Regions from separate parts of the Homo sapiens genome. Here region 1 is linked to region 2. The links are contacts of gene promoters, found by promoter capture Hi-C in human tissues and cell types (Jung and others, 2019). All regions are on one chromosome and are shown on one strand. Each heading gives the region's core, a stretch centred on a gene start or on the middle of the fragment in contact. The rest is flanking DNA. Distances are from core to core; before and after follow the strand shown.

Region 1 (6,281 bases), core at 2,669-5,168, 170 kb after region 2:
ACATCCGATTCTGAGATGAAATCCATGTGACGTGCTCTGAGGGCCAAAGGATAGCCTTGGCCTGGAGAGTTGGGCACCCTTACAAAGTGGGACAGAAGACATGCCCGTCCCTTGCATGGAGTGATTAAACCCCGGGCAAAGAAAGGAATCAGTGATGACTCTGGTGCCTGGGACGTTCAGATGCGGGTGGATGTTAGAAAACGCTTTAACAACTGTCCAATCAGAAGGGAGGGGCCCTGACCAGTCATGGTGGACGCTGGCCATTAAAGGACTGTGGGGCCCTATTGGTGTACATGGTGTCTGGGGAGCAGGGAGGAGGGAGGATTCTGGAGGGCTGGAGCACTGATGGAAGGATAGAGGCTGAGACTGGAAGTAGGGGCTTAGAGCTTAACTCCAGGGAAAATAGCGAGGAGCGTGAAAGACTTGCCGGAGAGAGGCCAGGCGGGGCACAGTGGCTCACGCCTATAATCCCACCACTCTGGGAGGCTGAGTCAGGTGGATCACATGAGGCCAGGAGTTTGAGACCAGCCTGGCCAACATGGCAAGACCCTGTCTCTACTAAAAATACAAAAATTAGCTGGGTATGGTGGTGCACACCTGTAATCCCAGCTACTCGGGAGGCTGAGGCCGGAGAATCGCTCGAACCTGGGAGGCGGAGGTTGCAGTGAGTTGAGATTGCACCACTGCACTCCAGCCTGGGCAACAGAGGGAGACTGTCTTCAAAAAAGGGAAAAAAGGAGAGATGCCAGAGGTAAGCATTTCAGGAGGCTCACCCAGGTGGCCCTGGAGAATGGCCACTGGGTGACTTGGTCCCTAGATCCTGTGAACTTGAGAGTATAGAACCCAAGGGGGAGGGAATGAAGGGAAATGAAAAGCAGAAGCAGGTTGGGAGCGGTGGCTCACACCCATAATCCTAGTGCTCTGGGAGGCCGCAGATCACTTGAGGCCAGGAGTTTGAAACAAGCCCAGGCAACATAGTGAGACCTCATCTCTATTAAAAAAAAAAAAATTTATCCAGGAGTGGTGGCATGTGCCTGTAGTCCCAGCTACTTGGGAGGCTGAGATGGGAGGATCCCTTGAGCCCAGGAGTTTGAGGGTACAGTGAGTTATGGTCGCACCACTGCACTCCAGCCTGGGCAACAAAGCAAGACCTTTTTCTCTAAAAAAGAAAAAGAAGGCCAGGTGCAGTGGCTCACGCCTGTAATCCCAGCACTTTGGGAGGCTGAGGTGGGCGGATCATGAGGTCAGGAGATTGAGACCATCCTGGCTAACACAGCGAAACCCCGTCTCTACTAAAAATACAAAAAATTAGCCGGGCGTGGTGGCGGGTGCCTGTAGTCCCAGCTACTCAGGAGACTGAGGCAGGAGAATGGTGTGAACCCGGGAGGTGGAGCTTGCAGTGAGCCGAGATTGCGCCACTGCACTCCAGCCTGGGCGACAGAGCAAGACTCCATCTAAAAAAAGAAAAAAAGAAAAGCAGAAGGGTCTGGGCTGTCGTTCCCAATCTTTCCCTCTTTCTGATGCACAGTGAGGGTCCAGTCACGTGGTGTCCACTTCTATCATCTCTCCACCATCCATGACCTAGAAGCTGCCCAAGGCAGAAACTGGGCTTTACGGACCTGATTTCTGTATCATCATTTTTTGTTTTTTTTTGAGACGGAGTCTCACTCTGTCACCCAGGCTGGAATGCAATGGCGTGATCTCAGCTCACTGCAACCTCCACCTCCCAAGTTCAAGCAATTCTCCTGCCTCAGCCTCCCGAGTAGCTGGGACTACAGGCACATGCCACCACACCCAGCTAATTTTTGTATTTTTAGTAGACATGGGGTTTCACCATGTTGGCCAGGATGGTCTCGATCTCTTGACCCTGTGATCCTTCTGCCTCGGCCTCCCAAAGTGCTGGGATTACATTGCACCCAGCCCTGCATCACCTTCTTAAGCCCCTTTTTTCCGGCCCCACCTAATACCACGCATGTCAGGGTTGCCTGGCCTAGCACAGCACAGCCTAGCCTGGAGGAGAAGTCCATACTTACCTATGCCTGGTGGGGGATGCCGCCTTCACCAAGGTGTGAGCCCATGGAGGCTGGCCTCCTTTAAGAGTCTGGCCAGAGGACTTGAGGTGGCCTAAACACACCATGAGCAGACTAATGATACCAAAGTGGAACCAGAATGATAAGTCCTAGCTCCCCAAAATTTGAGCATCTATTCTGTGCCAAACACTATAGCAGACATTTTATTATTTATATGTTTATTTATTTTGAGACAGAGTTTTGCTCTTGTCACCCAGGTTGGAGTGCAATGGCGTGATCTCGGCTCACTGCAACCTCTACCTCCCAGTTCAAGCAATACCTCAACCTCCTACGTAGCTGGGATTACGGGTGCCCGCCACCATGCCCAGCTAATTTTTGTATTTTTAGTAGAGATGGGGTTTCATCATGTTGCCCAGGTTGCTCTTGAACTCCTGACCTCAGGTGATCCACCAGCCTTGGCCTCCCAAAGTGCTGGGATTACAGGCATTAGTCACCCCATCTGGCCTATGCTACTTACTTCCAATACCCTACCATTGTCCTTTTAGTGATGACCATACCCAGGCGATCTCGATGCCCAAGATTTAAGGTGCAGGAAATCCCACTGGAGTTCAGAGCTGCTGCTTTTTTTTTTTCCTCCAAGAGAAATTGTTGAAGTCAAACTTGACCAAGTTCTTTCTGCAAACTGGATGCCTTCACATGCCTGTCTCCAGATCCATGCTTCAAGGCTAAGTGTTATTAATAAAAGTAATGCAGATTGGGAGGCCGAGGCAGGCGGATTATGAGATCAGGAGTTCGAGACCACCCTGGCCAACATGGTGAAACCCCTCTCTACTAAAAATAGAAAAATTGGCCGGGCGTGGTGGCGGGCATCTGTAATCCCAGCTACTTGGGAGGCTGAGGCAGGAGAATCTCTTGAACCCAGGAGGCGGAGGTTGCAGTGAGCTGAGATTGTGCCACTGCACTCCAGCCTGGTGACAGAGCGAGACTCCATCTCAAAAAAAAAAAAAAAAAAAAAAGCCATCCTGGCTAACACGGTGAAACCCCGTCTCTACCAAAAATACACAAAAATTAGCCAGGTGTGTGGCAGACACTTGTAGTCCCAGCTGCTCAGGAGGCCGAGGCAGGAGAATGGCGTGAACCCGAGAGGTGGAGCTCGCAGTGAGCCGAGATCGCGCCACTGCACTCCAGCCTGGGTGACAGAGCGAGACTCTGTCTCAAAGAAAAAAAAAAAAAGTAATGGAGAAGCTGAAGGTTACCCAACTCGTTTCCTGGGCTTGCTTCTCTCTGTCACAGTTCCCTGACAATGATGAAAGCCTGTTCTTTCCAGCCCTCGGCCTCTGTTGGTCCTCACTTTGCAAATGTCTTTCCCAATCTTCACCCACACCAGAAACTCCACGTCTCCCCATGAGAGTTCCCAGGACACCCCGTGAGCCGTTTGCAAGAGAGTGTATCACCTTTAACTCGCCCCTGTCTGTTGCAGGAAACAGGGGTCAGACTGTTCTACGCTTTGAGCACATGGCCTTTGAGGCTTCTCACTTGATCCTCAGAGCTAAATGCTCTCAGATCAGAACAGCAAAGGACTTCGGCCTCAGACCCAGCAAGAGATGTTGTCATTGCATACAATCAGCCAGGAATGCCTTCATTCATTCTACACATCTTTATTGACACAGCCTGGCCCTGAAGTCAAAAGAATGAGAAAGGAGGAAGACAGGCTTGGTGCCTGCCTCCCTGTGTTTAGAGGTTAGCAGAAAAAGAACTAAATCAGGGATGCATTAGAATTATGGTATTACGCCACCATGGAATACTATGCAGCCATAAAAAAGAATGAGTTTGGCCGGGCACAGTGGCTCACCCCTGTAATCCCAGCACTCTGGGAGGCTGAGGCAGGTGGATCACCTGAGGTCAGGAGTTTGACACCAGCCTGACCAACATGCTAAAACCTCGCCTCCACTAAAAATACAAAATTAGCCAGGCATAGTGGTGCATGCATGTAATTAATCCCAGCTACTTGGGAGGCTGAGGCAGGAGAATCACTTGAACCTCGGAGGCAGAGGTTGCAGTGAGCCGAGATGGCACCACTGCACTCCAGCCTGGGCAACAAGAGAGAAACTCCATCTCAAAAAAAAAATAAAGAAAGAAAGAATGAGTTAATGTCCTTTGCAGGGACATGGATGAAGCTGGAAGCCGTCATTCTCAGCAAACTAACACGGGAACAGAAAACCAAACACCGCATGTTCTCCCTCATAAGTGGGAGTTGAACAATGAGAACACATGGACACAGGGAGGGGAACATCACACACCGGGGCCTGTTGGGGGGTGGGGGGGCAAGGAGAGAGAGAACATTAGGACAGATGTCTAATGCATGCGGGGCTTAAAACCTAGATGACAGGTCGATAGGTGCAGCAAACCACCATGGCACATGTATACCTATATAGCAAACCTGCACTTTCTGCACATGTATCCCAGAACTTAAAATTTTTTAAAAAAATTATGGTATTATGCATACTAGGCTGGGTGTGGTGGTTCATGCCTGTAATCCTAGCACTTTGAGAGGCCGAGGGGGGTGGATCGCCTGAGCTCAGGAGTTCAAGACCACCCTGGGCAACATGATGAAATCACGTCTCAACTAAAATGCAAAAAATCAGCCAGGCGTGGTGGCGCACCTGTAGTCCAGCTACTCAGGAGGCTGAGGCAAGAGAATTGCTTGAGCCCGGGAGGTGGAGGTAGCAGTGAGCTGAGATCACGCCACTGCACTGCACTCCAGCCTGGGCGATGAAGCGAGACGCTGTCTCAAAAAAAAAAAAAAAAAAGAAAGAAAGAAAAGTGTGGTATTATGCATACTAACAACAGGGAAAAGTGAACCAGCTCCCAACTGAATCCTACTTTGCTAAGTTGTGTACATGTTTTCTTTATTCATTTCCATTCACTTATGTACAAGTTAAATATATATTTTTTAATTCCTGCTGTATCCGTCAGGGGACTAGCAGGAAACAGAATCAAACAGGGACGATTTAAGAGAAGTTAAGAAGGGACTAGGAGGCTGGCTGTGGTGGCTTACGCCTGTAATCCCAACACTTTGGGAGGATTGCTTGAGTCCAGGAGTTTGAGGCCAGCTTGGGCAATATAGCAAGACCCCATCACTATAAAGATTGTTTTTGGTTGGCCACGGTGGCTCACGCCTGTAATCCCAGCACTTTGGGAGGCCGAGGCAGGCAGATCACTTGAGGTCAGGAGTTCGAGACCAGCCTGGCCAGCATGGTGAAACCCCATCTGTACTAAAAATATAAAAAACTAGATTGGCATGGTGGTGCTTGCCTGTAGTCCCAGCTACTCGGGAGGCTGAGGCAGAAGGATTGCTTGAACCCGGCAGACAGAGGTTGCAGTGAGCCAAGATCGAGCCATTGCACTCCAGGCTGGACAACAGAGCAAGACTCTGTCTCAAAAAAAAAAAAAAAGGTTTTTTTTTTTGTTTTTTTTTTAATAGCTGGGCATGCACCTGTAGTCCCAGCTACTCAGGAGGCTGAGGCAAGAGGATTGCTTGAGGCCAGGAGTTTGAGACCAGCCTGGGCAACATAGAGAGACCCTGTCTCTATAAAAAAAAATTTTTTTTAATTAGCCAGGTGTGGTGGCACACTTCCGTGGTCCTAGCTACTTGGGAGGCTGTGGCAGGAGGATCACTTGAGCCCAGGAGTTTGAGGCTGCAATGAGCTATGATTGCTCCACTGCACTCCAGCCTGGAAGACAAAGTGAAATCCAGTCTCCAAACAAACAAACAAACAAACAAACACCTCACAAACAAACAACAAGCAAAGGACAGTTAGGAGCGCTGGTTAATCCGTGCTCTTTCAGGAAGCCAGGGTGCACAATTTACTCTCAAAATAAGAGTGGGCAGGGGTGGAGACGGTAGTCATTCATTACCATTCTCTCTATATTAATCGACTAAACCGATAACCACCAGCTGTCTCGCGTCTTTGTGAATTCACAGACATAATGTGTGTGCATCTGGGTCTTAACAAGAGATCATGGAGGCTGAGTAATGTTTGGGCAGAGAAAAAAATTATTGCATTAAGCAATATGATCTTCAAAAATTGACAGCTGGTGATATGGAAGCTTTCAATCTTTTATTTTGTCTTAGGCTGAGAGGCAAAGTCTGGTGTTTAGCTGTATTTTGTATTGATTTTCCAAATGACAAAGAAAATTTCAAAAGCTGTCAAACAAACACGAGACACTTACGAAGTGAAGCTGTGTTTC
Region 2 (6,250 bases), core at 346-2,845:
CTAAGCCTCCAGGATCTCCGAGAGCCCTGGGCCAACTGTTTTCTCTAGAGCCAAGGGACCAAGACCCAGGAAGGGGCATTTGGCCAAGGACACAGAGTAAGTTGAGGCTGCCTACCCCAATGGGAAGACTTGGCCTTGAGCCGTCAGGGAGTGTTGCCCAGGGTGGGGCCACCCATGCTGGCTGGGACCCACTCAGACTGCAGTGTGGCCGGACCTCTGGAGCTGTGGGACTCTGGGTGGGACATCACCCTCTAGGAGGCTCAGCCATCTCATAGGAATAGGGGGGAGTGTATGAAACCCCCGGTCTGCTTATGGAGAGAGTTTCTGCACCAACCTGGCCCTCGGGGGCCCCTTCTACCAATATGCCTATTATCAGGGTGTCCATTAAGCACCCCCAGGCCAGGGGACCCCCTCAGGGCACTGAAATGCTCAATGAACAGAGAAAGCAACAGGACAAATAAAAGAAAAATGGGGTGGGCGCAGTGGCTCACGCCTGTAATCCCAGAGCTTTCGGAGGCCAAGAGGGAAGGATCGCTTCAGGCCAGGAGTTCAAGACCAGCCTGGGCAACATAGTGAGACCCCTATCTCTACAAAATATCAAAAAAATTAGCCGAGCATGGTGGTGTGCTCTTGTAGTCCCACCTACTCAGGAGGCTGAGGCAGGAGGATTGCTTGAGTCCAGGAGTTTGAGGCTGCAGTGATCTATGATTGTGCCACTGCACTCCAGCCTGGGCGACAGAGTGAGATATTGTCTCTTAAAAAAAAGAAAACAGAAAACTGGAGGTGACTCTGATGAGGAAGAACTGAAAAATGAGACCTCCATTCCACCCTGGCCTCACACACACACATCCATCCCCACCAGGCCTGGCCCAGCCCAAGAATTCTCTAGTAGATCTGCCAAACAGAGCCCACACCTGCCCTGGAAAGCCCCTCCTGTGTCTAGTGCAGCCCCAGCAGCCCCAGCTCGGCCTCAGAGGCTGCCACTGTCCATCTGGGGCCCGCCATATCTGAACAGCTGCCAGGGCCGGCAGTGCTGGGTTCAGGCAGTGAGCCCACGGGTCCCCAGGGGCTGGAGAGCTTAACTGTCCCTGGAGCTGGCCTCAGGCCTTCAGCCCCGGGTACAGCTGATCCCCTGCCTTTGGGGAAGGGAATATCATAATAATAATAAGAAGAGCAGCTAATATACAACACAGAAGGTCAGGCCATGTCTTAAAACACGTGTCCTCACATTCAATCCATATCCCATTTTCCAGATGAGGAAACTGAGGCACGCATGGGTTAAGTCACTCACCCAAGGCAGATAAGAAGTGGGGCCAGAGGCCAGGCACAGTGGCTCATACCTGTAATCCCAGCACTTTGGGAGGCCGAGGAGGGAGGATCACTTGAGGCCAGGAGTTTGAGACCAGCCTAAGCAACATGGTGAAACTCTGTTTCTACAAAAAAATTTTTTTTAATTAAAAAATTAGTCAGGCATAGTGGTGAAGTGAAAAAGTTCCCTTATCCCGTTCATAGGGCATGCGATGGGGGTGTGGCTCGCTTCTTCCATGCCCAGCTGCTCAAACCTCTAGGCGGACCATGCAGACAGGCAGGCTATGGGGCTCCGACCCCACGGCAGTGTCTAGGGGTGGATGCTTACAGCTCCTGAAGCCCCAGTGGGCGTGTGTTACAGGATGCTCTTTTACTTTTGCCATCTGTAGGTGGCTTGTGTTCATCAGCTCAGTTAGACCCTCTGCCTTATTGCAAGGACAAAGGGCTTTTTGTATCCTGGGGTTCTTGCCTTGGTGTACTGTGAAAATTGAATCACATGTGGGCTTGGAGAATGAGTGCGAGGTTTTATTGAGTGGTGGAAGTAGCTCTCAGCAGATGATGGGGAGCCAGAAGGGGGATGGAGTGGGAAGGTGATTTTTCCCCTGAAGTCAAGGTGCTCAGCAGCCAGACTCTCCTCTGACCATCCCCAGCCAAATTCCCCTGGGCATTTGTGTTATTCAGCCAGTCGATGGCCTGCCAGCATCTGCCAGTGCTGTCGGTGTGCTCTTCCGATCCTCTGCTCCTCTTGATGTCCAGCCACCTGTGTGTGTACCCACTGGGGTCTCAGGGTTTTCATAGGCACAGGATGGGCGGGGGGGCGGGGGGCGTGGTGGGCCAGGGTGGTCTTGGAAAATGTGACATTTGGGCATATAAACAGGAGTGCCTGTCCTCACCTAGGTCCGTGGGCACAGGCCCAAGGGTGGAGCCCTTGCCAGGGACCCTGCCTTTCTCCTCTCAGCACTTCCCTGTCCCCCCTCCTGTATCAGTGGCACATGCCTGCAGGCCCAGCTACTTAGGAGGCTGAGGTGGGAGGATCACATGAGCCCAGGAGGTTGAGGCTTCAATGAGCTGTGATTGCACCACTGCACTCCAGCCTGGACAACAGATCAAGGTCTCATTTCTAAAACAAAAAAAAAAAAAAAAAAAAAGAGAGAGAGAGAGGGAGGGCCAGGACAAGAGCCCCTCTTTCTAGTGTTTCCAGAAGGAAGCTTCCAAAAGGTTCTGCTCATCCAAACTCTCCCCTCCTCCTGCTCCCTCCCAGTCATCCCTGACTACAGCTATTTCTGATGTCCCTAAACTCCTGTGACTGAGTGCTCCTCCCAGAGCTGGGGCCAGGTCCAGCCATGATGCTGTGCAGCCCGCTTTCTGCAGCAGGAAACCGTGTGCCTCAGTTTCCCCGACAGGGCTGCTCTCCTGGTGTCCTGGCGTTCCTCTCCGGGGAGAAAAACCACACGTTCCACAGGTGTTCAACAAGCCAGGCGGAAAGGAGAACCCAGCTCTGGGGACGGGAGCCTGGATTCCAGTCCCAGCCGCCTGGACCTGCTACAGAAGGGGGCCTGTGTGACCGCGACAGTGGCTAGGGTGCAGGCTTTCCATGCCCGGTCTGTGAGCCTGGCCCTGGGGCCTCCTGGCTCTGGGCTTACAGAGTGGGTAGCAGACCTATAACTCCTGCTTCCTGCCTCTGGCTTCCTGCTGCCCTGAGGCCTCTGCAAGCAAGGGCTCTTGCCTCCGGGGAGCACGCCCAGGACCGTGGCAGGGGCTCCCAAAGGCCGGGGACAGGCCTGAGCAAGCGGAGAGCCCCCCCGCCTGCCCGGAGGAGGGGAAGCGGCGCTGGTGAATCACACCGGGCTTACAAATTAGTCTGAGTGGATTTCCTCCCCTGGCCTCCTCCTTCATAGGACCGGAGGCAGGAAGAACCGGTGAGAAATCTGGTAGAGACGTGAAAACCCCGGGGTGAGATGGTTGGGAGATGTTTGTTCCTGGGGGGCGGGAAGTGTGAGGGTGCAGTGGCCTTGAGAAGGGGGAGCCGTGAGTTCTGCACCCACAGTGGGACCCTCAGTTTTCCCCATCTGAGAAATGGTGCCAGCAGCCAGGACCCCTTGAGGCTGCCATCGGGAAGCTTAGTGCCATTGGAAGGAGGTGGGCTTTGGGGTCATCGGCCTGGGGTTTGGAGGGCAGAGCCTTCCCCTGTCCCCCTTTCCCCCTGTGTAGATGGAGTCCTTGACAGAACTTGCAGCCTCTCCAAGCTGCAGCCCCCTCACCCAGGTGACACTGCAATGAGTCAGTTGTCGTGGCTGGGTCACACTGTTTGACTCAACTGACCACAGGGCCAGGGCCAGTTCTTGGGGTCAGAGACACTCTGAGAGGTCTCTGCTCCCAGCCAGGGGACCCTGGAGAGTAAGTGTCCTCTGGAACTGGAATTCCAGGTCTGCCTGGGGTTGAGTCAGAGAATACTTAGCACTCTCGGTTTCCAGAGGTAACTGAGGTCCTGGGAGTGGCCAAGCCAGGAAGGGAGCTTGGAACGAGCCCAGCTGCCTGGCAGGGGGACAGCTGTTCCCCAGACAACACTGGAACAAGCCGGGGAGATGCCTTCCCCTTTCAACCCTCACCCCTAACCTCTCACCTATAACTCCTCAGGGTCAGCAGGCTGTCCCTGTCCCCCAGCCCCACAGCCCTTGACCCCTTCCCTGGCCAGCCATCACCCTGACCTTGGCTGTTCTGCAAATTCTTCCCGAAATCTCCTTCCTCCAAGCCTTTGGCCACATTGTATGTTTCCCTACTCATCACAATCAGTCTCCAGCCTGCTTTAGAACACCTCTCGGACGGCCGTGGTGGCTCCCGCCTGTAATCTCAGAACTTTAGGAGGCCAAAGTGGGTGGATCACCTGAGTTCAGGAGGTCAAGACCAGCCTGGACAACACGGCAAAACGCTGTCTCTACTAAAAGTACAAAAATTAGCCAGGCGTGGTGGTGTGCGTCTGTAATCCCAGCTACTCGGGAGGCCGAGGCAGGAGAATCGCTTGAACCTGGGAGGTGGAAGTTGCAGTGAGCTGAGATAGCACCACTGCACTCTAGCCTGGGTAACAGAGTGAGACTGTGTCTCAAAAGAAAACACAAAAAACAAAAAACAACAAAAACAAAAGGAAGCCAACAGTGCTGCCTTCAGTCTGTGGCCGAAGGCCCAAGAGCTCCTGGCAAACCACTGGTTTAAGTTCAAGAGTTCAAAAGCTGAAGAACTTGGAGTCTGATGTTCGAGGGCAGGAAGCTTCCAGCACAGAAGATGAAGGCTGGAAGACTCAGTGAGTCTTCTTATTCCACTTTCTTCTTTCTGCTTTATTCTGGCCTCACTGGCTGATTAGACGCTGCCCACACAGATTAAGGGTGGGTCTGCTTCTCTCAGTCCACCGACTCAAATGTTAATTTCCTCTACCAACACCCTCACAGACATACCCAGAAACAATACTTTGCATCCTTCAATCCAATCAAGTTGATACTTAATATTAGCCATCACACCTACCTACTGAATTTGAGAGCCTAGGCCACTTTCTGACCTTCCCTGAGCAATCCCAGGCTGCCGTAAAAAATGCCTGCAAATTCTTTGACACTTTTTCCATGGAGAGGCGGGATCTATAACATCATTCCTTGCCAACAGGCAGGCTTTTGTGACTGCTTTGACCAAGAAAGTAGGGTAGAAGTGTCACTATGTGACTTCTGAGGTTAAGTCACAAAAAGCCATGGAGCTTCTACCTTATTTGCTGGGACTTTGTGCTGGAGCCCTGAGTCACTCTATGACGAGTCTGACTACCATGAGGCGGCCATGTTGTAGGGAAGACCAAGTCACACGAAGAGGCCCCGTGTCTGTACTCCAGTCAGCAGTCCCTGCCTTTGAGTCATCATCCGAGCCTCCCAGACAACAAACGTGTGAATGACCAGTCTTCAAGTGATTCTGGCACCAGCCATGGAGTCATCCCCATCCTTAGAGTCCCCCGAGCTGAGGCCCTAGACATTATGACAAGCCACCCTCACCATCCCTTTTCTGAATTTCTGATCCATAAGAACCCCTGAGCACACTGCTATGCTTTGGGGTTTTTTTTTGTTTTTTGTTTTTCTTTGAGATAGAGTCTCACTCTGTTGCCCAGGCTGGAGTATAGTGGTGTGATCTCAGCTCACTGCAACCTCCACCTCCTGGGTTTAAGTGATTCTTCTGCCTCAGCCTCCCGAGTAGCTGGGATTACAGGCACCCAACACCACGCCCAGCTAATTTTTGTATTTTTAGTAGAGACTGGTTTCACCATGTTGGCCAGGCTGGCCTTGAAGTCCTGACCACAAGTGATCTGTCCGCTTCGGCCTCCCAAACTGCTGGGATTACAGGCATGAGCCACCATGCGCTGTGCTTTGGGCTGATTCTTTACAAAATATCATAATAACCATCACAGTGAGATTTAAATGTGCTCTGTAGGGGGACAGGCTACACAGCCATAGTCTACTCCTCAGGGCTCTGGGGAAGATGAGAGCATGAATTTGAAATCAGATGAAAGTGACTTCAAGTCCTGCTGGACCACTTGCTCTGTGACCTCACCCACATCACTGAATTTCCCAGAATCCTCAGCTTCTCCACCTGTCACATGGAATCAGTTTTCACTTGGCAAGTTTGTTACATGCCTGGCGCTTGTAGACTGCGGCTACCAATCCTGTCTGGTTATTGGCAGAGGACATGCTGCCTGTGACAAGACACTGAGCCAAGAGATGCCTCTGTTGGGCTTCCAGAACGTGCTTCCTGTGCCAAGGCTCCAGTGTCCTTAGTGGAAGAGAGACGCCCTCACGGCCTGCCCTTTCTGGCCTGGCCAGGGCAGCATGACTCATTGGATGACCCCTCGCCCCATCCCAAATGTCACAGCCCTGCACCATGGCTTCCCTTAGACCCTGTGGCCCAAGGACACACA

Evidence for each region. The method cuts DNA at HindIII sites, captures the fragments that hold promoters and counts their contacts. A contact is called where the count stands out against the background at its distance.
Region 1: a contact is called between a fragment that was not itself captured here and the fragment with the promoter of MYL10 in region 2, in 2 of the 25 tissues and cell types used here (IMR-90 fibroblasts and lymphoblastoid cells).

Annotation. Positions count from the first base shown.
Region 1 is chr7:101,793,644-101,799,924 of GRCh38, forward strand. No RefSeq gene overlaps it. Among named protein-coding and RNA genes, the nearest start is that of CUX1, 21 kb to the right of the region's middle. The HindIII fragment of the contact is 4,862 bases long and covers 1,488-6,281 here.
Region 2 is chr7:101,627,701-101,633,950 of GRCh38, forward strand. It overlaps MYL10 (myosin light chain 10), which reads right to left and starts at 1,596. Exons shown (of 8, transcript NM_138403.5): 1 at 1,341-1,596. The coding sequence starts at 1,418. The HindIII fragment of the contact is 21,528 bases long and covers 1-2,971 here.